7 separate regions of the Homo sapiens genome follow, and all the other regions are linked to region 7. Evidence: promoter capture Hi-C in 16 types of primary human blood cells and fetal thymus (Javierre and others, 2016). All regions are on one chromosome and are shown on one strand. Each heading gives the region's core, a stretch centred on a gene start or on the middle of the fragment in contact. The rest is flanking DNA. Distances are from core to core; before and after follow the strand shown. Region 1 has its middle 98 kb from the start of INTU. Region 2 overlaps SLC25A31 (solute carrier family 25 member 31). Region 3 has its middle 54 kb from the start of INTU. Region 4 has its middle 74 kb from the start of INTU. Region 5 holds the start of HSPA4L (heat shock protein family A (Hsp70) member 4 like). Region 6 has its middle 37 kb from the start of INTU. Region 7 holds the start of FAT4 (FAT atypical cadherin 4).

Region 1 (2,808 bases), core at 267-2,766, 2.2 Mb after region 7:
TTATCTCCCTGCACCTTCTGGGTTCAAATAGTCATTCAGCCTTGGCATCTACTCTCAGGCCCTAGGCTCCATGTCCCCAATATTCAATGAGGAGGAGGTTAACTTCTATGGGTCACAATGCCTGTCCTCTTTCATTTCTTCTCAAAATGTCTTTTCTCCTTTTTTCTTTCCTTCTCATAAAGATAAATGTAGTCACTCATATCACTGTTCTCAGCAAGTAATAAATTTAGAGATCATCTCTATAGAACATTGCTATAAAACAACTTCATTAAGTCCATAGTATATAATTTAGGACTAAAGGATTTAGAGTTCTACAAATTCTAGTCAAAATTTATTATATATTAGAAAGAATTAATATTAACTTTGTTTAGAGAAATTTATAACAACATTACAAAACCCTCTGAAAACGCTTAAGGTGAACTCTCTTTCCTCTTCTCCCACTGGGTGGTTGTAAAATTAATATCATGCAAAAAATACTACACGCTTTATAAGCAAACATTTGTTTTTTGTTTTTTGGGTTTTTTTTGCTTTATTTTTTATGTAAATTTACACTTCTAAAACAAAAAGCATTCAGAGAGTAGTATCACTAATTGCTTGTCACATGTGGATATTTGTTGTGACACGTGTGGAATTCCATCTTAATAGTTACTGAGAGTGGAATTAGCACAAGGATTTATGAGTTGGATTATAGAAATTGTACATATACAAGGGGACAAGGAGAAAAAAAATAGGAGACAGAAGGAGAGGTGGGAAAAGAAAAGAGGAAACAACAGAAGCCATGAAGAAGAGATATAGAGAACATTAGCATGCCATAAAAAAGATCCAAAAATAATGGAATCATCATGCCTTGAATAATCAACTAATAATATTTGTTGGATCAGGCAGTTTTAAGATGTTCTGTTTGTATATCTAGGGATATACACAAGAAGAAAATATAATTATAAGACTGTCAGGTCAGAGCTTTAAGAAATCTTCATATTAAACCAAAATTTCTTTGGTCTGAGTCCCAGGGTTTGGTCTGAGAATCCAAGAATAAATGTAATAAAGGGAATTTCAGAATCCACAGTCAATGTGGCGCTGTCTTTTATATTTATCTTCGTGTATAGTTAACAGTATTATTCCAAAGAGTGGAAATCATGCTTTTTTAGACAAAATAAAAATCTGTGTGGTTTGCTGACATGGTAATGTGATTATAGTTCCTGAAGAATGAAAATTACACAAGGTCAGTACCATCCTTTGACAGAAATTGTATCCTAACTTTTCTCAGAAGAAACTAGAAGTAGAGACAGATTCTTTAATATTTTCCTTTCTTTTTTCAATCATGCATAGATCTGTCATTTTTCACAAGCCTCATGTGTCATTTTGATGTAAGCTTGCTAGCGAGGGCTGCCATACCTAAGTACTACAAACTGGGTGGCTTAAGCAACAGAAATTTATTTCCTCACAGTTCTGGAGACTACAAGTCTAAGACAGAGGTGTTGACAGGGTTCCTTCTGAAGGCTCTTCCTCTTGGCTTGTAAATGACTATCTTCTTCCCATGTCTTTACATGGTCTTCTTCTATGTATATCTGTGTCTTAATCTCCTCTTCTTATAAGGACACCAGTTATGTGAGATTAGAGTCCATTCTGATGACCTTACTTTGCCTTAATTCTCTCTTTGAAAAGCTTGTCTCCAAATATAGTCACATTTTGAAGTACTAGGGGTTAGGATTTCCACGTATAAATTTGAGGGGAACATAGTTCAGCTCATAACAATGATCCTTGGAAAAACTTTGCTCCAATCAATGAAATTATCTGTGGATAGAAACCATCTTGAGTGACTGTTGTTGCCATCTTTAATGCAACTTTCTGCACTAAAAAGACAAAATCCACTGTAGGAGAGGAGAAAACAATTTCTCCTTTACTCTTCAGAGTCCTTAGCTGGACCTCCTGCAACAAAAGACAGATTAACAAGAGAAAAACAAACAAGTTCACTAACATGTATATTTCATATATACATGAGAGAGAACTAAAGGAAAGAGTAACTCTCAAAAAGATGGCTTAGAACTTCAGCTTATATAGCATCTTCAACAAAGTACAATACAATTTCAGAGAAGTGACAAGAAAAAGGAAAAGGACTTTGAGTGTCTAGATGTGGCATATTGTGGAAAAGCAATTATATGGGAAACCAATAGTAGGTAGAACAGTTGGTAAAGTTTGCTGTATAGATTTCTCTTGTGCCATCTCCAGGCTGATAAGGGTCTAAAGTCATCTCCACTGATCAAACTTTGTCATTCCTGGTAGAGAGGTAAAGAGGTACATCTTTGTATATTTATTTCCTGATTTTAGGCAAATAGGGAGAGGGCAGACAGCTTTTCTTGTTTGTGCTTCTTCTCAATTCCCTTCAGCTCAAGATAATCCTTATGCCAAAGTCGAATTCTGGGGGTAGCATATTCTCCTGCCCTTCACCACCAAGGTTTTCACAAGGAAAATCTCTGAAAGAAACAAAATAGGCAAATTAACAAGCAAACCCTAATTTGTTCTCCTCAAGTTTTATCTTCTACTTATGACTTTCTCACATTAATTCAGATGCTTCTATCATGGCATACACTAAGTAGACATTTGTACCCCTATTTTATTTCTGTGTGTTTGTTTCTTTAAAGCTTTCTTAATTTACTGCCTTTAATAAAAAAAATTGTTAAACATTGAATAATGTATAGATCATAGCTATAAACTCAGGATAGTTCTTAAAAAGCCTAGCCAACGGATTATCAAAACCAGTTGTTATGACTTGAACAGTTGTCCCCTCCAAACCTCATGTTGAAATAT
Region 2 (3,007 bases), core at 426-2,925, 2.4 Mb after region 7:
CATTTATTAAAATTCTTTTTTCTGTATTTTTGTCTAACTGGGTTAAAGGACCAGTCTTCAAGCTCTGCATTTCTTTCTTCTGCTTGGTCCAGTCAATTGATAATTTTTTTAATTGTATTTTGAAATTTCTTAAGTAAGCTTTTCAATTCCATAAGATCTCATTGATTTCTTTTGAAGATGTTTATCTCTTCTTTCATTTCCCAGATTACTCTAGAAGTTTGTGTCTATTTTCAACCTTCTTTTAGATCTTATTGAGCTTCCTTGCAATTCATGCTTTGAATTCTTAGTCATTTCTGAGTTTCCATTTTGGCTAGGAACCATTGCTTGACCGCTAGTGTGATCCTTTGGTGTTGTTATTACATTCACATTTTTTGTGGTGCCTGATTTCTTGCCCTATTCCTTCTCAACTGGAGACACTAGTGCTTCCAATTTTTGTAGTCATTTTAATGCAGGTAGGATTTTTTTTCTTTTTCTATGTAACATTATTGGGGTTTTTTCTTTTCTCTTTCCCCCTCCTCCCTTGGGGGTGTAACTGTAGACAGTGTTGGGTAGGGGCTTTTGACTTTGCTCTATAACCCTTGGGGGTGTAACTGTAGACAATGTTGGACAGGGGCTTTTGACTTTGCTTCTATAGCCCTATGCATGTATGTCAGCAGGTTTTATATTGGGCTATGGGATCCAACCTACAGGCCAGTAGATAGCATGTACAGCTGAGTCAACTGAGGCAAACACAGCTACATATGTACTTGACCCCTATTTACTGGGAGAAAGGATGCGCCAGGCTGATGATTCAGGAGAGCAGATGGTCAGAATGCCTGGAAATCTGCCTGGTTGTGGAGCAGAGACAGCCCCACTTCACCACAATGTCTGCACAGGAAGGATGGGGCAGCTCAGGCTGCTGATCATGGCAAGTAGGTACTCTGCCTGCCTGAGTGTGAAGCTGAGAAGGCCTCCTCCACACAGATCTCTGCAAAGGAAGGGTGGGGTGACTCAGGCTGCCAATGCAGGTGAGCAGGTTCTTTGAATGCCTGGAGATCTGCCTGTGTATAAAGCAGAGAGGGCCCCACTGCACCACAATCTCTGCACAGAAAGGGTAGGGTGGCTCAGGCTGCTCATCTAGGTGAGTGGGTGCTCCAAATGCCTGGATATCTCTTCAGTTTCTTTCATCAGTTTTTTAAACTTTTTGGCGTACAGATCTTTCACCTCTTTGGTTAAATTTATTCCTAATGTTTCGTGTATGCTATTGTGAATGATACTGTTTTATTACTTTTTCAGGTAGTTCATTGTTAGTATATAGAAATGTGATTGATTTTTCTGTGTTGATTTTATATCCTAAAACTTTACTGAATTATTAGTCTAATAGTTTGTTGGCATATTTAGGGTTTTCTGTATGTAAGATCATGTCATCTGCAAACAGAGACAGTTTAACTTCTTTTTAATTTGGATACTTTTCTTTTTCCTAATCACTCTGGCTAGAACTTAAGGTACTATATTGAATAAAAGTGCAAGAGTGGATCCCTTTGTCTTATTCCTGATCTCAGAGGAAAGTTTTCAACTTTTCTCCACTGAGTATGTTATCTGTGAGCTTGTCACATATGGCCTTTATTATGTTGTAGTACATTGCTTCTATACCTAATTTGTTGAGAGTTTTTATTACATAAAGATAAATTCTGTCAAATGCTTCTTCAGCATTTTTTGAGATGCTCATATGATTTTTGTCCTTCATTCTGTTAATGCGGTATATGACATTTACCCATTTGTGCATGTTGAGCCATCCTTGCATCCCAGGCATAAATCCCACTTGATTGTGGTGAATGATCCTTTTATCATTATATTGAATTCAATTTGGTAGTATTTTGCTGAGGATTTTTGCATGTTTGTTCATTGGAATATTGGCCTGCAATTTTCTTTTCTTGTAGTATTTTGGTTGGCTTTGGTACCGGGGTAATGTTGGCCTTGTAAAATGAATTTAGTAGAATTCAGCTGTGAAATCATCAGATCCTGGGCTTTTCTTTATTGTTAAGTTTCTGATTACTGATTCAATCATTGTTGGTCTGTTCAGAAATTTATTCATGATTCAGACTTGGTAGATTATATGTTTCTAGAAATTTATCAATTTCATATATGTTATTTAATTTCTTGGTATATAATTGTTCATAGTAATCTCTTACAACTCTTTGTATTACTGTATGTTAGTGGTAATGTCTTTTCTTTCACTTATAATTTTACTTACTTGACTCTCCTCTCTTTTTTTCTTAAGTCTAGCTAGAGGTTTGTCAATTTTGTTTATCTTCTTCTAATAAAATACCAACCAGCACTGGATCTCAAAAAAATAAACTCTTAGTTTGACTGATATTTTTCTATTATTTTTGTAGTCTCTATTTCATTTATTTCTGCCATTGAAACCAGCTCAATTGGCCCATGGAACTGATGTTTATTGTTTCTCATCAATAAACCAAGAAATTGACCTCTCAGTCTTAAAACTTGAGAAACTCGTATTTGTCATATCTGAGTTCCTTTCTCAGGAAACCAACCTTTGGGCCTCCCAGATAGTATCGAGGAACTGAAACTTACCAGATCACCACATCTGGACATTGAGACACTAACCCTTCGCCTGTCATGACTGCCTGATTGATTACCTGTTGACCAAGTCCTTCTTCTTATTCCTCCCTAATTCTTGCTTTCCCACACATAGTTACATTTCTTTTCTGCTATATAAACTCCTAATTTTAGTGCATGAAAGAGATGGATTTGAGATTGATCTGTTCTCCTCAGACACAGCACCCAAAACAGCCTTCTTCCCTGGCAGTACTCATCGTCTCTGTGATTGGTTTTCTGTGCAATAAGCAGCAGAACCTAGACTAAACCCTTGGCATTTTGGTAACACTAATTTTTATTATCTCTCTCCTTCTTCTAACTTTGGACTTAGTTTGTTCTTTCTCTAGCTCCTTGTGGTATCAAATTAGGTTATTTGAGATCTTTCTTCTTTATACATATGCATTTATTG
Region 3 (2,811 bases), core at 54-2,553, 2.3 Mb after region 7:
AAAAGAGATATATTTGGCTCACAGTTCTGCAGGCTGTACAAACATGGCACCGGCATCCATTTAGTCTCTGGTGAGGACTCAAGAACCTTACAATCATGGTGGAAGGCAAAGGGGGAGCTGATGTATCACATGGCAATGGTAGGAGCAAGAGAAGGATGTCAGGCTCCTTTAAATAACCGGTACTTATGTGAGCTAACAGCAAGAATTCACTCATTACCCTGGGGAGGTCACCAAGTCATTCATGAGGGATCCACCCCCATGACAACACTTGCTTAAACTATTAGAGCAAAATAAACTCAATTTGAGATTTGGAGGGGACAAATATCCAAATCATATCACCCATGTATTACATGCATGTCTGTTCTTGTCCATGGCCCTCACTATAAATTATGTTCCATGATGAGAAAGATGTTGTTGCTATTACTACCTGGATCCCCAGAGTCTAGATGTATGCCTGGCACACAGTAGAAGCTCAGTAAATATTTGTCATTTGAATGAATGAATGAAAGAGTGAAATATTCATGAAGAGTGGATCAAGGAATAAAAGGAAATCTATTAATCCCTTTCTAAGAAATGTGTCTAATAAACACATTAATTAGGAGCCTTAGCTACTTCAACTGATGGTAACATTTTAAATTCAGGCATGTGTTTGACTGATCCTGGAAAGTGAAGGAGGACAGAAGATATTAGGCTGGGCCAGAAATCTACCCAGCCAGCTTTGTAAAGACTCTCAACTCTAAAGATTCTGTGTCCAGCTATGTAGCTAAAAAGAGAAAAATGTGAGCTGTGAGTCTTTAAGAAGAAATAGAATCCTGTCTCCTCTCAGCCTGCCTGGAGGGAGTCCTGCTGGCTTCTTCCCTTAGAAGGACAGCTTGCTCCCCTTTGAATGGAAAACGGGGGGGCGGGGGGGGGGGGAATGGGTTTTGACGTTTCTTCTCAGTCTTCTTCACCTTGAGCTAAATGAAGATAGTGACTAACCCATAACATAGGAATACAACCATTTTTGTCTTCATACATGACGAAAATGTCTTTTCTTCCTAAATTTTTAGGTTGACAAAGAAGTATTAAGTTTATATTGCTGTAATAGTTCAGGCAAGTGTTATAAATTTAATTTCAATTCCAAGGAAAATTTGGAGAGAGAACTCTTTTCAGATATGCCTCTCAAATTGAAAAACTACCTTATTATATACCCTACTAGCATGAAGAAAGGTCAGCATCTGGCAGAAAGACTCCTTTTCCAAGAATTCCGGGAGGGTGGGCAAGATGGCCGACTAGATGCAGGCGGGAAGTGCTGCTCCTACGGAGAGACAACGGTATTTCAACCAAATCAACATAATTTGAACAGATCTTTGGAGAGAAAATGCCAAATGTGGACGAAGAAAAGATACAGATGCTGAAGCTGAAGAAGGAGGAAGCTGGGAACCGCATGTGGAGTGCCTGAATGCTAGGGTTGGGTTTGACTCCTGGGAAATGAGTCAGTGAAGGAACTGAGGGAATGCCTACTCTCACCATGGACCTCTGGCATCCTAGCTGCAGGGGACCCCACAGTCCTCACAGATGTTTGAGCTGGTATAGGGGGATCTTCCTGGAGATTAAATGAAGACAGACATATAGCAGGCATGGAGCCAGGGACCTTTGTGCACAGGACAGCTCCAGCAGAGCCAGGCCGTAAGTGTCCATCCCCGGGGCTCTCCGTCTCCCTCTGAGAAGTTCTGGCCCCAGCTAACCACCATGGAGAAAGCAGTGCTGGCTTCCCTGTTGGACTAGGGCATGTGTGCCCTGCAAGCCCACCTGCCCGCCAGCCCCTCCCAGGGCTCCTGCTTGGCTGCCCCAAAAGAGTGTGTACGCAGTGCAGCCTCTGCTGCCCAGCATGGGTGCTTTGCTCCAGCTGAGTGCATTCTGGCAGCTTGGGAGCCCTTTGGATTCCCCAGCACACCTGGAACTCAACTCCCTAGGTCTGAAGGAGGGGACCAAGAGTAGGTCCTATTCCCCCAGGTCTACCACCCTTGGTTTGGCAGTGTCAAGCCGAGATCTATGCCCAGCGCTGGAAGTTGGAGAGGAGGAGGCCACACTCTCAGAAAACTGAGAGAGCTGAGTCACACAGGTTTGCGGGCTGGTTTGGGACCTAGGCGTGCCTCCCTCCACAGGCTGGTCTTGTAAGGGCGTGGCCTATCTCTCGGCCAGACCTCTGCCCAAGGGAGTCCCGCAGGCCCCAAAGAGCAAATAAAAACAGTTGCAGCGGGCACGGTGGCTCACGCCTGTAATTCCAACACTTCGAGGCTAAGGCGGGCAGATCACCTGAGGTCAGGAGTTCAAGACCAGCCTGGCCAACATGGCGAAACCCCGTCTCTACTAAAAATACAAAATAGTAGCCAGGTGTGGTGGTGCAGGCCTGTAATCCTAGCTACTCGGGAGGCTGAGGCACAAGAATCGCTTGAACTCAGGAGGCTGAGGTTGCAGTGAGCAGAGATTGCACCGAGCAGAGATTGCACCATTGCACTCCAGCCTGGGCAACAGAGCAAGACTCCTTCTCAAAAATGAAACAAAACAAAACAGTTGCAATAGTTTTGTGTTTAAAAATGTGTGGCAACTTCTCCCTACTCTCTCTCTTGCTCCCACTCTTGCCATGTGATAGATACATCAACTTCCCCTTTGCCTTTTGCCATGCTTGTAACTTCGCTAATGCCTCTCCAGGAGCCAAGCAGATCCTGGCACTATGCTTCCTGTACAGCCTGTGGAACTGTAAGCCTGTTAAACCTCTTTTCTTTATAACTTACCCAGGCTTAGGTGTTCTTAATAGCAGTGCAAGAA
Region 4 (3,158 bases), core at 341-2,840, 2.2 Mb after region 7:
GAATTGTATATATTAAAATGGTAAATTCTGCAGGACATGGATTATATTTCAATTTTTTTAATGAAGGTGAGAGATACCTTGTGAAGTGAAGAAGGGTATGACTCCTCTCTGAATGGTCAAACATTGGAACAGAGCTACTCTAACTTTACTACAAGCTTCCAGTAAACATCTTCTTTTTACAGTCTGGAAAAGAACAAAAAATTACCTGAAAATTCAAGTATATAAATATGTTAGTACATTATATTTCAATGTGCACTGGCCAGGTAGATCCTTTTCTTACATCTAACAAAGAATAAAGTAAGGATGAAACTCCATGAAGTTATAAAAAACTGTATCTGAGATCTCGGCATTCCCCCCTACACACCCAAGCTCTATCAGTACAGCCCAGAGTCCTTTTCTTGTATGGACTATGCCCTTTCTTAATTATTGTTTCTTAGCTCCCAAACTACTCCCTCTTTACTCTGATTTGTGATGCTGGGGCTGGAACTCTGCAAACCACAGTCTGCTTTGCCAGTCGACTACTGTCAGGCTTTTCTAACAGGGGGGCAGACTGTAAGGCTGCAGTAGGGAAAAGAGACATGATCCTTCCTGTCCACTTCCTGTTAGTTCTATTGGCTGTCTTCCTACTTCCTAGTTCAGCAACAGCAGCAGTACCTTCCCACAGCAGTGGTTGAATCCAGTTTGTGGTTCTTCCAACACTTTCAGAACCAGCCTCAAGCATCCTTCAATGGATAATACTCCATTATATGTATGTACCCCAATTTTTTCCCATTCATCCATTAATGGATATTTGGGCTGTTTCCACCTGTTGGCTATTACAAATAGTGTTGCTAGAAAGTGAAAGAAGCTGACACAAAAGGCCACATATTGTATGATTCCATTTATATGAAATATCCAGAACAGGCAAAACCATAGACACAGAATGCTGACTGGTGCCTTCCAGGGGCTAAAGAGAGGAATGAATGTGGAGCAACTGCTTAATAAGTGCGGGGTTTTCTTTTGGGGTGATGAAAATATTTTGAAACTAGAAAAAAGTGGTAGTTGCACAACATTTGTAAATATAGTAAATGCCACTGAGTTATTGATTCTAGAATGATTAGTTTTATATTATGTCAGTTTTGCCTCAACAAAAATAAATAAGTAACTGGGTGGTTTCTCCTGACTGGGCCCGGACTGATACACGGACCTTCATTACACCCACAGCAGCCTTCAAGTTTGCCTTTGCCACCTGAGCTGCATGGCCTCTCGCCAGCTTTGTTCTTGTCTGTTCCTCCAGTTTTTACTGTTTGGGAAGTGGGTAATTATCAACAGAAAGTATTGTCTTGACTTGTGCTGCCTAAGATACTAGTCACCAGCCACATGTGGCTATTTAAATTTAAGTTTAATTAAATAAAAAATTCAGTTCCACAGTTGCACTAACCACATTTCAAGTGCTCATTACCCACATGTGGCCATGATGGCATGGCAGGCTGTCAGGATCGGCTGCTGCCATCATGCCAGCTGCAGTGGGGAGGTGTGAGCAGTGGTGGCAGGAGCAGTTGTGGGATCAGCAATGGCGGTGTAGATTCCCTGTGCCTCACATGCCCAAAGCAGCTGGCTGTGCCACTCCTACCCTCATGTGGCAGGGCAGGACCTATCCCCAGGCCCAGAGCCTCCTTCACTCTGGACTCTCATCACTCTTGCCTACAGCCACTGTGGGGAGGGTGCTGGGATGAGGTGGAGCTGGGCCTGGGGTGGTGCTGCACTCCATGGAGCCAGCAGGAGCCAGGGACAAGCAGGAGTCTCCTTGGAGCCCACCACCCTGGTAGCTGCCACAATGGGGCTGGGCAGAGTTGCCTGCCAGCAGGGGAGCAGCATAAGTTTGGCAAAGAGGGGTGGGCAGAGAGGGGCCCAGCGAGGACCTGGAGACCCCACCCCAGGTTGTGAGGAAGTGCAGCTGGGGATCCCTGCATGCTCCATAGAGCAGGTGAAAGAGCCCTGCCCTCCCAGGTGCAGTATGTGGGCATCTCTGTACTCTGCAACCTGGGGGGCCTGGGAAGGCCCCTACTGCCCCTGCAGGCTTGGGGGTGTCTGCTCCCTCCACCTGGCCTCTCTCTGCTCCTGGCACACTCTCCAATTTTGAAGTGGGGTTGGGGCCGAGTTCAGGCACTGTCACAGCCTATCCAGGTGTGCACACACTCAGGGCAGCACACTTGAAACCTGCCAGTTCCCTGCTGCCTCAGCCCACTCCTGACTTTGGGCAACAATGAGCATAGGGTCGGGGGAAAGCCAAGGGGAGACACTGAGGGCAGCTCAGTGCTGGCCTGCAGGTGCCCATTGGCATAAGCAGCCTGGGCACCATGGATGGTGGCAGGAGGCAGATAGGCACCCAGGTGGAAGGGGGCAGTCCCAGTGAAGCCCTACCTTCAAGCCAGGGAGGGCCTGAAGGCTGGGGGCTTGGCACCCAGTCCCACAGACTGGAGTGGGAACTTGTGATGCCTTTTTCAGGCCCACCCATAGCAGCCCATAGACCAATCAGCATGCATTTCTTTCCCTCTGAGGCACATAAAAGCCCCATGCTCAGGCAGAGCTGGACGGACAATGGGGTGACCAGCTGCAGAGAGGAGCCACCCTCTCTGCTGGAAGCTAAACACTTGTTGGGACAACCTGCCTGCAGAGAGGAGCTACCCTCTCAGCTGGGAGTTGAACATTCAACAGGACACCCTGGCTGCAGAAAGCAGCTGCCCCCTGTGAGTCTCCTCTAAGCTGTTATATCACTCAATAAATCTCCTCTTCATCTTGTTCACCCTTTACTTGTCTGCATACCTCATTCTTCCCAGTTGCAAGACAAGAACTCAGGACCTGCCAAATGGCAAGTCTAAAAGACAACCTGCAACACAAACAGGGCTGAAACACGCCCCTTGCTTGCCACATGTGGGCCAAAAGAACAAGAGGTGAGCTGCAGCCCTTTAGGAAGCCCAGACCTGGGAGCTCCCCAAGCCAGGGCTGTGACTCCCTCTTTGGGGCCCTGCAGTTTCTGGCATCTCCAAGCTTCTGGGCACCACTGTGTTCTCCAGTGCCAGCCATGGAAGCTGCCTGCAGTGCACCTGGTCTGGCCACAGACTCTCTGAAAGCCGGTGCCCATGCCAGCACCTGGAGCTGCCCACCCCACTGCAGCA
Region 5 (2,931 bases), core at 42-2,541, 2.5 Mb after region 7:
CTGTAGCAACATTATTAATAGTAAAAAATCTAAGTTATTTAAAGAAGTGGACAACTAGGGATAATCAGAATACTAAAGAATCTAGTAAACAAAACAAACAAACAAAAAAACACGCCTGTTTTCAAGATGGATACCAAAATGGAACAGGAAAACACACAAAGAATTGGATGAGAAGGAACAGAGACTAGATGAAGAGGACGGGGAGGAACAGGGAACAGACCAAGGACTGGCAGAGAAGGAACAGGGCACACACGTAAAAGTGAACGAAAAGCAACAAGACAGCCAAATTTCTTAAGTGTAACATAAAACTTGGTTAATTACAGACAGGCAACACATGCCGATCAAACCAAGAGGGAGGGCGCTGGACCACACTGGGCTCTTTTTTGAGGACCACAGGGCAGCGGCTGGAGGCTAAAGCACAGACTTGGCTGGTGTGAGTGGCACACTTAATTAAGGTCACTTTCCTGTAAAACTGGTTTCCAGAGACAAGGGTCAGCGGCGGGGCCAGCATCTTTTAGAAAGGTGTGAGGAAAGGTACGTGGAGGGAAAGTTGTCAGTGTGATCTTATTTCTTGACAGAAGTTTGACTTTTGATATTTCAAATCCTGCTGATGAAAAAAGAAAAAAACCTAACATGTGCTCATCCCGCTTTCGCACAAGAGTCTGTCCCGGGCTCGGCAGCTCCCCCGGGGCTGGACAGGGCGGAGCGGCGGACGTCGGACAATGCGCGCCACCTCACAGAGCCGGGCGCGGCGGGCCTCCAGCCACAAGGGGAGGGCGCCGGGCTGCACATGGGCCCCTCGGGGAGGCGAGGCCTGCGGGCGAGCCCTTCTGAGGGCAGGGGGTGAGGGGGCGGCGCCCGCCAGCCAGGACAGCATCCTGCCGCCGTGACAAGCACGCCTCCGGTTGCCAAAACAACCCAAAAATGTGCCTCAAAACACGTTCGCAAAGCCCCGGGCCGGCCGGTCGCCTGCCTCTCACCTAGCCCGACCGCCCGACGTCCTACTGCCGAGCGAGGGCGAGCAAGCCAATGTGCCTAGCCTCCTTTCCCCGATCCTCCCCGCCCCGCCTTCCCGCTTCTCCCGCCCCCGGATAGCTCAGCAGCCTCCATTTTCCAGATCTTTCTCGAACCCGCAGCTTCTTGGGCAGCCGTTGCCCGAGTGCTGACGGAAGCGGCCGAAGTCCGGGCCCGGAGCTGGCTCGGGCGCGGAGCGGAGGCTCGCGCGCCTCCCGGGCAGCCGAGCGCGCAGGCGCAGGTCCCAGTAACCGCCGGTTGGAGGCGGCCGAACCGCAGTAGGGAAAGACCCAGGCTGCGGGACGCGGTGCAGGCTGCGGCGCTGACGGCCTCTGCTCCTTCCGCGGGTTTCCGACTCCCTGCCCTAGATTTTCTGCTTAGCGACTTGGGGTCCCCTCTCGTTTGCTTCTGGTAGGAGTCGCAATCCCAGCAGCAATAGCCCAGAAGAGGACACGGTTCCCGTACCGAAGGGTTCAGTACCAGCAGCCCGACCATCACGCGGCGGGATGTCTGTGGTTGGCATTGACCTCGGCTTTCTCAACTGCTACATTGCTGTCGCGAGAAGTGGCGGCATCGAGACCATCGCCAATGAGTACAGCGACAGGTGTACCCCGTAAGTGCCTCTGCTGAGCATCACCTCGACCCTAAGAAACGTTTTTCTCTCCCGTCCTTAACGTTTGTCCTGTCTGCTCGCTTCCTCGGATTTTCCCCTAACGTGCGCCGAACCCCGAGATGACAGGTGCAACCCGTCAACCGCAGTCCCTAGAGACCGCCGGGTGGCAGTCGGACTTCCTCGCCCCGCAAAGCTTCTTTTCCTTCAAGGACGAGGGACCGCACTAGTTTGCGCAGCTCTCTTTTCTGTACCTACGCACGTCCCCTGCCTCGTGCCGCTGTCCCCCAACGCCTCTTTTGCTTGCGAGGAAGAGGTTGCTGTGGGACAGCCCCTGGCGTCCGGAATATTGAGAAAGATCTCCGGTTGCCTCTAACGAGGTTTACGTGGGATTATCGGCCCCGCGCCAGCTGCCCTCCTTCCTTTCCCCGTCCCTCTGGGTGACAGCTTTTTCTCAGAAAAGTAAAAAGTCAGCTTCGGCTGCACACGTCAGAGATGAATTGCAGGTTCATCTGGCCCCGAAAGCCTTTTTTTTTTTTTTAAGGGCGGGGAGTGAGGCATGTGGGGTTTTACAAAACCCAGTGCCCTTGAGAACTGCAGGTAATGGAGCCGGTTTACAGGGCCAGGTCAATGGTGCATTGATAGGGAGAGCCTCGGGATGGGAGTCACTGGCCTTGTGCATTGGTAACTACGTCAGTTGCTGGAATGCGGCGGGGTTGGGTCGGACCAAAAGCGTGTTTCTGCAGAGTGAATTGCCGGAGTCGGGGGCAGCTGTCCCGTATAAACATGACTGTGGAGTGATTCTATTATGAACGCTTAATGAAAGGCTTAGGAGGAGCGGCGTTATGTCATGGAAACATGTTTCCACATGTTCCGTTGTTTCTCTGGCCTGGGAAGTTTGTTGGCAAGGAATATAATGAAGTAATTCTGAAATATGAAAAACTAGTTGCTGCTTATAGGCTGCTGTTACTGGTAATTTTATGAGGAAACCAACTGTATGAAACCTATATTACTTTTTATGGAAAGGTAATTTGGCATCTTAATTTGACCGTTCTGAATGGTCCAAAATATAATACCTTAACTATACTAAAACAAGGTCAGTGTCCAATGGTCTTTAAATGCCTCATTTACTATTCTATGGAAAGCTTTAAAATATGGCAAAAAGATGTTGAAGAGTAGCTCACTTGAAGCAGTCTGTGCTTTGATTTCTTTCCAAGAAGATTCTAGAAGGTTTTATACCTTTTTTCGTAGATGTACACGTTTCTTCTATTGAAATTTTAAACGTTTTGGACGTTTATATTTTCAAT
Region 6 (3,188 bases), core at 472-2,971, 2.3 Mb after region 7:
GGGATAGCATTGGGAGATATACCTAATGCTAGATGATGAGTTAGTGGGTGCAGCACACCAGCATGGCACATGTATACATATGTAACTAACCTGCACAATGTGCACATGTACCCTAAAACTTAGAGTATAATAAAAAAAAAAAAACATTTAAAAAAAATAATAATAAATAAATAAAAAAATAAAAGTGCTGAAAAAAAAAGAAAAAAACATATGGAACAAGAATATAAAGAAAGAAAATATTTTCACAGCTGTACAATGCGTTTGTGTTTTAAGCTAAGTGTTATTACAAAAGAGATCATAAATTTAAAAAAATTTTAAAGCATATAAAGTAAAAAAAAAGTTACAGTAAGTGAAGGTTAATTCATTTTGAAGAAAGAAAAATATTTTTTATACATCTAGTGTAGCCAAAGGGTACAGTGTTTATAAAGTCCTCAGCCCTCACATTCACTCACCACTCTCTCACTGTCTCACTCAGAACAACTCCCAGTCCTACAAGCTCCATTCATAGTGAATGCCCTATACAGGTGTACCATTTTTACCTTTTATACCATATTTTTACTGTACCTTTTTTATGTTGACATACACAGTGGTTGTAATTGCCTAAAGTATTCAATACAGGTATGTAGCCAAAGAGCAATAGACTATACCATATAGCCTAGGTATGTTGTAGACTATACCATATAGCCTAGGTATGTTGTAGGCTATACCATCTAGGTTTGTGAACATACACTCCATGATGTTCATGCAATGGTAAACTCACTTAGAGCATTGCTCAGAATGCATTCCCATTGTTAAGCAATACACAACTATATTAAACTAAAATAACATTTAGATAAGAAAAACACAACGTAAGTGTCTTAGTCCATTCATACTGCTATAACAAATACCATCAACTGGATGGCTCATAAACAACAGAGGTTTATTTCTCATAGTTCTGGAGGCTGGGAAGTTCAAGATCATGGTTCCAGCATGGCTGGGTTCTGGTAAGTGCCCTCTTCCAATTTCTCACTGTGTTATATGGTGGAGGGGGCAAGGCAGCTTTCTGGGGTCTCTTTTACAAGGGCACTCGTCCAATCACCTCTAAAAAGCTTCACCTCCTAATACCAGCACTTTGGTAACTAGGTTTCAACATATGAATTCTGAGGAGACACATTCAGAGACCCTAGGAATAGGTCCATAGGAATATTTTATGAGCTATATTTACACTTGAAGGCAATTGTCATAGAACCTGGTATAATAAATAGGTAAAGTACCTTTAAACTCGTATTGTGAACTTTATTAAAGAGATATGATAAAGTCCTGAAGAAGCTATTTAACTGAGATCAGAAAACTTGAGTCTTAATCACTGTTCTGCCACTAACCTGCTGTAAAACCTTGAGCAGTCATTCAACCTCTTTGTCATCTCATAAACTGAGGAAGTTTGGAAAAGGTGATTCTGTGTGATTCTGCCCAGTTTCAAAACACTATATAATCAACACTATACTTACAGTCTGAGGAAATGACTATTGAGAGTTATTGAATTTAAAGGCTTGCCCTTTTTTTTTTTTTTTTGAGACGGAGTTTCGCTCTTGTCACCCAGACTGGATGGGCGTGATCACGCAATGGTGTGATCTCGGCTCACTGCAACCTCCGCCTCTCAGGTTCAAGCGATTCTCTTGCCTCAGCCACCTTAGTAGCTGGGATTACAGGCGCACGCCACCATACCCAGCTAATTTTTGTATTTTTAGTAGAGAAGGGGTTTTGCCATGTTGGCCAGGCTGGTCTCAAACTCCTGAGCTCAGGTGATGTGCCTGCCTCGGCCTCCCAAAGTGCTGGGATTACAGGCATGGGCCACCATGCCTGGCCAAGTCTCGCTTTTTAAAACATATTGTTGGTAATATTATGCCAAAATTGATGATCAGGCACATACCAAGCCCCTGAGAATTATATCATTCCAATACAAAACATAAGCTACTTTATAACAATCTATTTTATAATATGGTTTCCAGAAATGTGTTATGTTGAAAATCAATCTTTAAAATCACCCCACATTATCAGAAAATAATTCAAAAAATATTTTATTTCTGTTTTTTGTGTGTGTGTGTGTTTGTTTTTGTTTTGAGAGAGGGTCTCGCTCTGTCGCCTAGGCCGGAGGCACGATCACGGCTCACTGCAACCTCTGCCTTCCAGGCTGAAGAGATTCTCCCACCTCAATCTCTTGAGTAGCTGGGACTGCAGGTGTACACCACCATGCCCGGCTAATTTTTTTGTTTTGTTTTTTGTTTGTTTGTTTGTTTGTTTGTTTATAGAGACAGGGTTTCACTGCTTTGCCCAGGCCAGCCTGAACAAATATTTGTTGATCACTTACCGTGGGTCAAGCTTTGTTTTAGACATTGCATGAAAAAATAATACTATACACCACCTCTGTGGCCCAGCTACTCGTGAGGCTGAGGTGGGAGGATAACTAGAGCCCAGGAGTTGTGGTACAGCCTGGGCACCATAGCCAGATTGTCTCAAAAAAACAAGACAAAACTTGGATTAAGATACTCTTCTGTCCTCAAGAACAGAATTCAAGAAAAATATAAAATAGCTTTAATATAAGGTAGGTCTTAATATAAGACCTGGTAAAGGCATAAGCTGAGTGCATAATTCAGGGGGGGAAAGGGATGTGACATCCAAATGAGAACAGGGAGGGCGTAACCAAGAACTTGGCATCTAGATGTATCTGGAAGATGGCTTGAATTTTTACAGATGAAAATGAAAAAAAGTATTCCTGGTGAATAGAACAGCAAGAGAAAATGTGAAAAGTTGAGAAAATGTAGCACATTTTCAAGAAAAAAAAAGCAAATTGATGAGTTTGACTTGAGTGTAGAGAATAAAATAAGTCATGAGAGGTTATACAGAGACAGCCAATTATAGAGGGTCCTAAATACCAGGCTGAAGGATACATACTCAGTTTGAAATATGCAAGTGGGTCTCTGAAGATGTTGATCAGGGGATTACAAGACAGAATGTTTTGAGGGAAAAAAGGAGAAAGCTAAAGAAACTGTGTGTAGCAAGGCCTCTTGACAGTGAAGAGTCAGGCAGGCAGGCTGAGGGTGAGGCAGGTTCCAGATAATGTCAATAGCTTAAGGGGAAGACAAAATATTGGAGCAGTCAAATGTCAGTGGAAGCAATTAGATATGGACTGTAGGATTGCGAGGAGTATG
Region 7 (3,162 bases), core at 565-3,064:
TGTTAGGATTGTAACTTAAGAAAAATACGATTTTTGAAAAACAGGCTTAAATGTCTCTAAAAAGTCTAGAGTCTAATGTTTTCAAGTTTTAAAATACATAAATGGTTAAATTTAACTTTTTTGTCTGTTTCCAGTTAACTCATTACATTACAGTAGAGGAATATGTAGAAGTTAGCTTTTTAACCTAAACAGAGGAATTGGTGATAGCTTTAGAAATCATGTTTCCATAAATCAGTTTTGAGTTACAGGCTGCCTGCATCATCAAGACTTGAATTTGCTGTCTGTCCTACTATTCTTGATTTTTTTTTTTTTACTCTAAATAAGAAAGGCACTAGGAAAGTCTTAGAGATCGTTTTCTTTGCTGCTATCCCTAGGCAAGAAGCAGGAATTAGCCTTGTAATCCGATCCTTTTAGTCTCTGCATTTAATTTTAAGCAAGAAACCAGGAGACTAAAGATGTAAGACTGACGTAGAACAGCAGAGGGCAGTATTTACTCATGACTGAACCCTCTCTGGGCGCAGAAAGTTTTACGTTTGTGAGGGATCCTTGTGGCAGAAATGTATGACATATGCCCTGTATTTGCATTGTTTGGCTTGAATTCTTATTTTCTAGGTTGGTTCCCTTAAAGGGGAAAAATATCGATCTGATTCCTAGTAACGTTTTTCTTCTTTTAAAGAAACGATGCATGCCACCACAAAAATTAACTGCAGTGAATAGTGGGTGAGTTGATCTGAGTGCATTAAGTGGCATGTGGGTATTTTTAAAAACTTAAGCTTAAATATTATTTTATTTATTTCTACTTTCTCGTATCTATTTCTCCCAGACTGAAAAGCAAAATAAAACTTTATTAGGTTTCCTTTGACTAAAAAATGTGGAGGTGGAAATACTCCATCAGGGATCAAAATTCCAAACTAACTTTGCAACAGGAAAAGATCTCCCTCTTTTCAAAGGGCTGCCATTATTATTGTTGTTGAAACCCTAAGGTTTGGGCTACTGGCACCTGGAATCCAGTTGGGAAAGAAAACAAAACAAACACTGAGTTCCCCTGGCCTTTCCTATAGTAGGAAGTCCAAAGTGCCCTTGCTACGGAGGCCTCCTGCCCCCTAGTCACCTGGAAGGTGGGGGAGAGGGGCAAGTGAGTGAAGATTTAGAGTTTAGCTCGCCCTAGACAGCAGGGAGCCCACTGTGTAGAAAGAGGAGCAAAGGGGAGGATTTGATTTGGATTCTGTGGGATCACACTGTATGGCAGCTCTATCCCTTGCATAAAGAGAGAAGGGGCAGGAAATGGTTAAAGCAAATCTGCACTGTGCATTCCCAGACAGGCTTTGCTTAATCCTTCCTCCCCGCTTTAACAGACCCTCACCCCCCGCCTTTCTTTTATTTCTCTCGACCCCCTTACCCCTGAGTTATTACTAGCATAACAACCTAACGGTCTTCCCCCAGACCCTGCCACTAAAGTTATTTATCTGCAAACCTGACCCCACCCCCATCTATTCTGCGGCAGCCTTTTGCTGTTATTGCTCTGACGCCGGCCAAGATTTGGCCGAAAAGGAAAAAAAAAAAAAAAAAAGAAAAGAAAAAAAATCACCCCCCTTTTTAGCGCCTCCGCCTCGCTGTGCTCCCACACCAGACCGCCTACAGCCCTCCGGGAGGCTGAAGTGATTAGCATCCCGAGAAGCCAGTCGGAGGCCGGGCAAGGCGGAGGGCGCTCGCGGTAGGAGTGCCGGTCGGGGCTGCTTCAGCTCCGGCCCAATGGGGCTGGGGCGAGGGAGGGGCAGAAGGTGACAGGACTGGGAGCTAGGGGGAGTCCAGGCGAACTAAAGTGCGGGGATCAATGAGTGTCGAGCAAAGTTTCTGAGTGCTGCTCCAGCTCGCGGTCTTCCCTCCCCCTCTGTTTGTGTTTCGGCGACGCGCTGTGTGTGTGTGTGTGCGTGTGTATGTGTGTGTGTGTGCATGCCTGTGCGGCGGGGAAGGGGCGGGGAGAGTGTGAGGGACCAGGCGGGAGGTGGAGAAGGGCTCGCGGAGCCCTAGCTCCACCGCAGTCCAACCTTCGGCCCCGGCCGGCGAGAGGGAGAGCGCTGACAGGCGCCGTCCGGAGCTGCGGAGGGCGTCACTACAGCCCAGCGCCGACTTCGCCGCCTCCGCTGCCAACTGTGAAGGAGAGAGAGGCATCAACCACCCCCCGCCCCAAACAAAAAGCCTTGTGGATTACAAAGTGAAACTGACACGGGACAATAAAAGCAGAGATAGCGAGGGCAGGGGCGAGGCGCGCTAGAGTGGGCTTCTGACTGGGGCCGCCGGAGAACGACCCCCCCTGGCATGGTGAGGGGAGGGCGACTCGGGGACCGCACGCTGTTTCTGCCCGACCCCTGCGAGGCCGAGAAGAAAGGGGAAACTGCGTTCGATTTGGATGTACAAATAATGGGTCGGCAGGCGCCCCGGCAGAGGTGAAAAATGCCGAGGAGCCCTGGCTGTTGTTTGTGCCGGACCACGGGCTTGAAGCCGCAACAGGGGCGGCGGCGGCGGCGGCTGCAGGAGGGGAAGGGGCAGAGTTGAGCGCTCCCGGGTACGGGAGCCAGAGCGCGAACGCTAGCGCTTGGAACGCAGTTCCCGAACTGCCTGCGCGCAGACGCCGCCGCCTGGGCCTCAGCGGCCACTGCCGGCGCCCTGTTGGAGGGGCGTTGCAGCCTGGTTTTTGAGGAGTGGGGACTCCAGGAATTCCATCGCCTCCAGCTTTTGGGAAAGAAATTCGATTCTCCCGGTTCCCCACCACCCCTTCCCCGGTGCGCAGTTGTGCTTGGACGTTTGTTCCTCCCTCTTCACGTTCTTCGCTGCGGGTAAGTTCTAAAGTTTCTGAAGACCGTTCTTTGCAATGATTCCTCATATACCTTAGATACAGGCAACTTCTCCCAACTCTCATCCACCCGGGTGAAAACGCTCAGACTATCTGGATTCAAAAACAAAGTAAAAGGGGGCATATATAAGAGGCTTGAGAAACTTTTCTGGGAACTCAGCTCACAGGAGTGTCCCGCGGAATGCCCTGCCGCTTTTCGCCACAGCATCTCTCTTGCACTCCGCGTTCAACTGGCTACCTAGAGTCTTTTGCTGATGCTACTTGCTTTTGCCGGACTGGAGGTTCTTTGAAATAGCAGAGGTCTCAGA

The links. The method cuts DNA at HindIII sites, captures the fragments that hold promoters and counts their contacts. A CHiCAGO score of 5 or more calls a contact.
Region 1: a contact is called between a fragment that was not itself captured here and the fragment with the promoter of FAT4 in region 7, in 6 of 17 cell types (M0 macrophages, M2 macrophages, monocytes and 3 more). The highest score is 25.6, in M0 macrophages.
Region 2: a fragment that was not itself captured here is called in contact with the fragment with the promoter of FAT4 in region 7 in 1 of 17 cell types (M2 macrophages); the score reaches 8.8 in M2 macrophages.
Region 3: a contact is called between a fragment that was not itself captured here and the fragment with the promoter of FAT4 in region 7, in 3 of 17 cell types (M0 macrophages, M2 macrophages and M1 macrophages). The highest score is 9.2, in M0 macrophages.
Region 4: a contact is called between a fragment that was not itself captured here and the fragment with the promoter of FAT4 in region 7, in 2 of 17 cell types (M0 macrophages and M2 macrophages). The highest score is 14.6, in M0 macrophages.
Region 5: a contact is called between the fragment with the promoter of HSPA4L here and the fragment with the promoter of FAT4 in region 7, in 1 of 17 cell types (M2 macrophages). The highest score is 5.2, in M2 macrophages.
Region 6: a contact is called between a fragment that was not itself captured here and the fragment with the promoter of FAT4 in region 7, in 4 of 17 cell types (M0 macrophages, M2 macrophages, M1 macrophages and 1 more). The highest score is 20.5, in M0 macrophages.

Annotation. Positions count from the first base shown.
Region 1 is chr4:127,533,621-127,536,428 of GRCh38, forward strand. No RefSeq gene overlaps it. Among named protein-coding and RNA genes, the nearest start is that of INTU, 98 kb to the right of the region's middle. The HindIII fragment of the contact is 293 bases long and covers 1,371-1,663 here.
Region 2 is chr4:127,739,769-127,742,775 of GRCh38, forward strand. The region is part of intron 1 of SLC25A31 (solute carrier family 25 member 31); the gene reads left to right. Among named protein-coding and RNA genes, the nearest start is that of SLC25A31, 11 kb to the left of the region's middle. The HindIII fragment of the contact is 3,078 bases long and covers 137-3,007 here.
Region 3 is chr4:127,577,894-127,580,704 of GRCh38, forward strand. No RefSeq gene overlaps it. Among named protein-coding and RNA genes, the nearest start is that of INTU, 54 kb to the right of the region's middle. The HindIII fragment of the contact is 9,345 bases long and covers 1-2,811 here.
Region 4 is chr4:127,557,001-127,560,158 of GRCh38, forward strand. No RefSeq gene overlaps it. Among named protein-coding and RNA genes, the nearest start is that of INTU, 74 kb to the right of the region's middle. RefSeq lists an enhancer at 293-462 and a cis regulatory region at 378. The HindIII fragment of the contact is 2,875 bases long and covers 154-3,028 here.
Region 5 is chr4:127,781,031-127,783,961 of GRCh38, forward strand. It overlaps HSPA4L (heat shock protein family A (Hsp70) member 4 like), which reads left to right and starts at 1,292. Exons shown (of 19, transcript NM_014278.4): 1 at 1,292-1,627. The coding sequence starts at 1,521. RefSeq lists silencers at 653-822, 1,103-1,172 and enhancers at 1,313-1,462, 1,362-2,354, 1,963-2,042. The HindIII fragment of the contact is 4,318 bases long and covers 1-1,818 here.
Region 6 is chr4:127,594,819-127,598,006 of GRCh38, forward strand. No RefSeq gene overlaps it. Among named protein-coding and RNA genes, the nearest start is that of INTU, 37 kb to the right of the region's middle. RefSeq lists an enhancer at 1,988-2,157 and a silencer at 2,956-3,188. The HindIII fragment of the contact is 1,270 bases long and covers 1,087-2,356 here.
Region 7 is chr4:125,313,141-125,316,302 of GRCh38, forward strand. It overlaps FAT4 (FAT atypical cadherin 4), which reads left to right and starts at 1,815. Exons shown (of 18, transcript NM_001291303.3): 1 at 1,815-2,837. The HindIII fragment of the contact is 5,556 bases long and covers 772-3,162 here.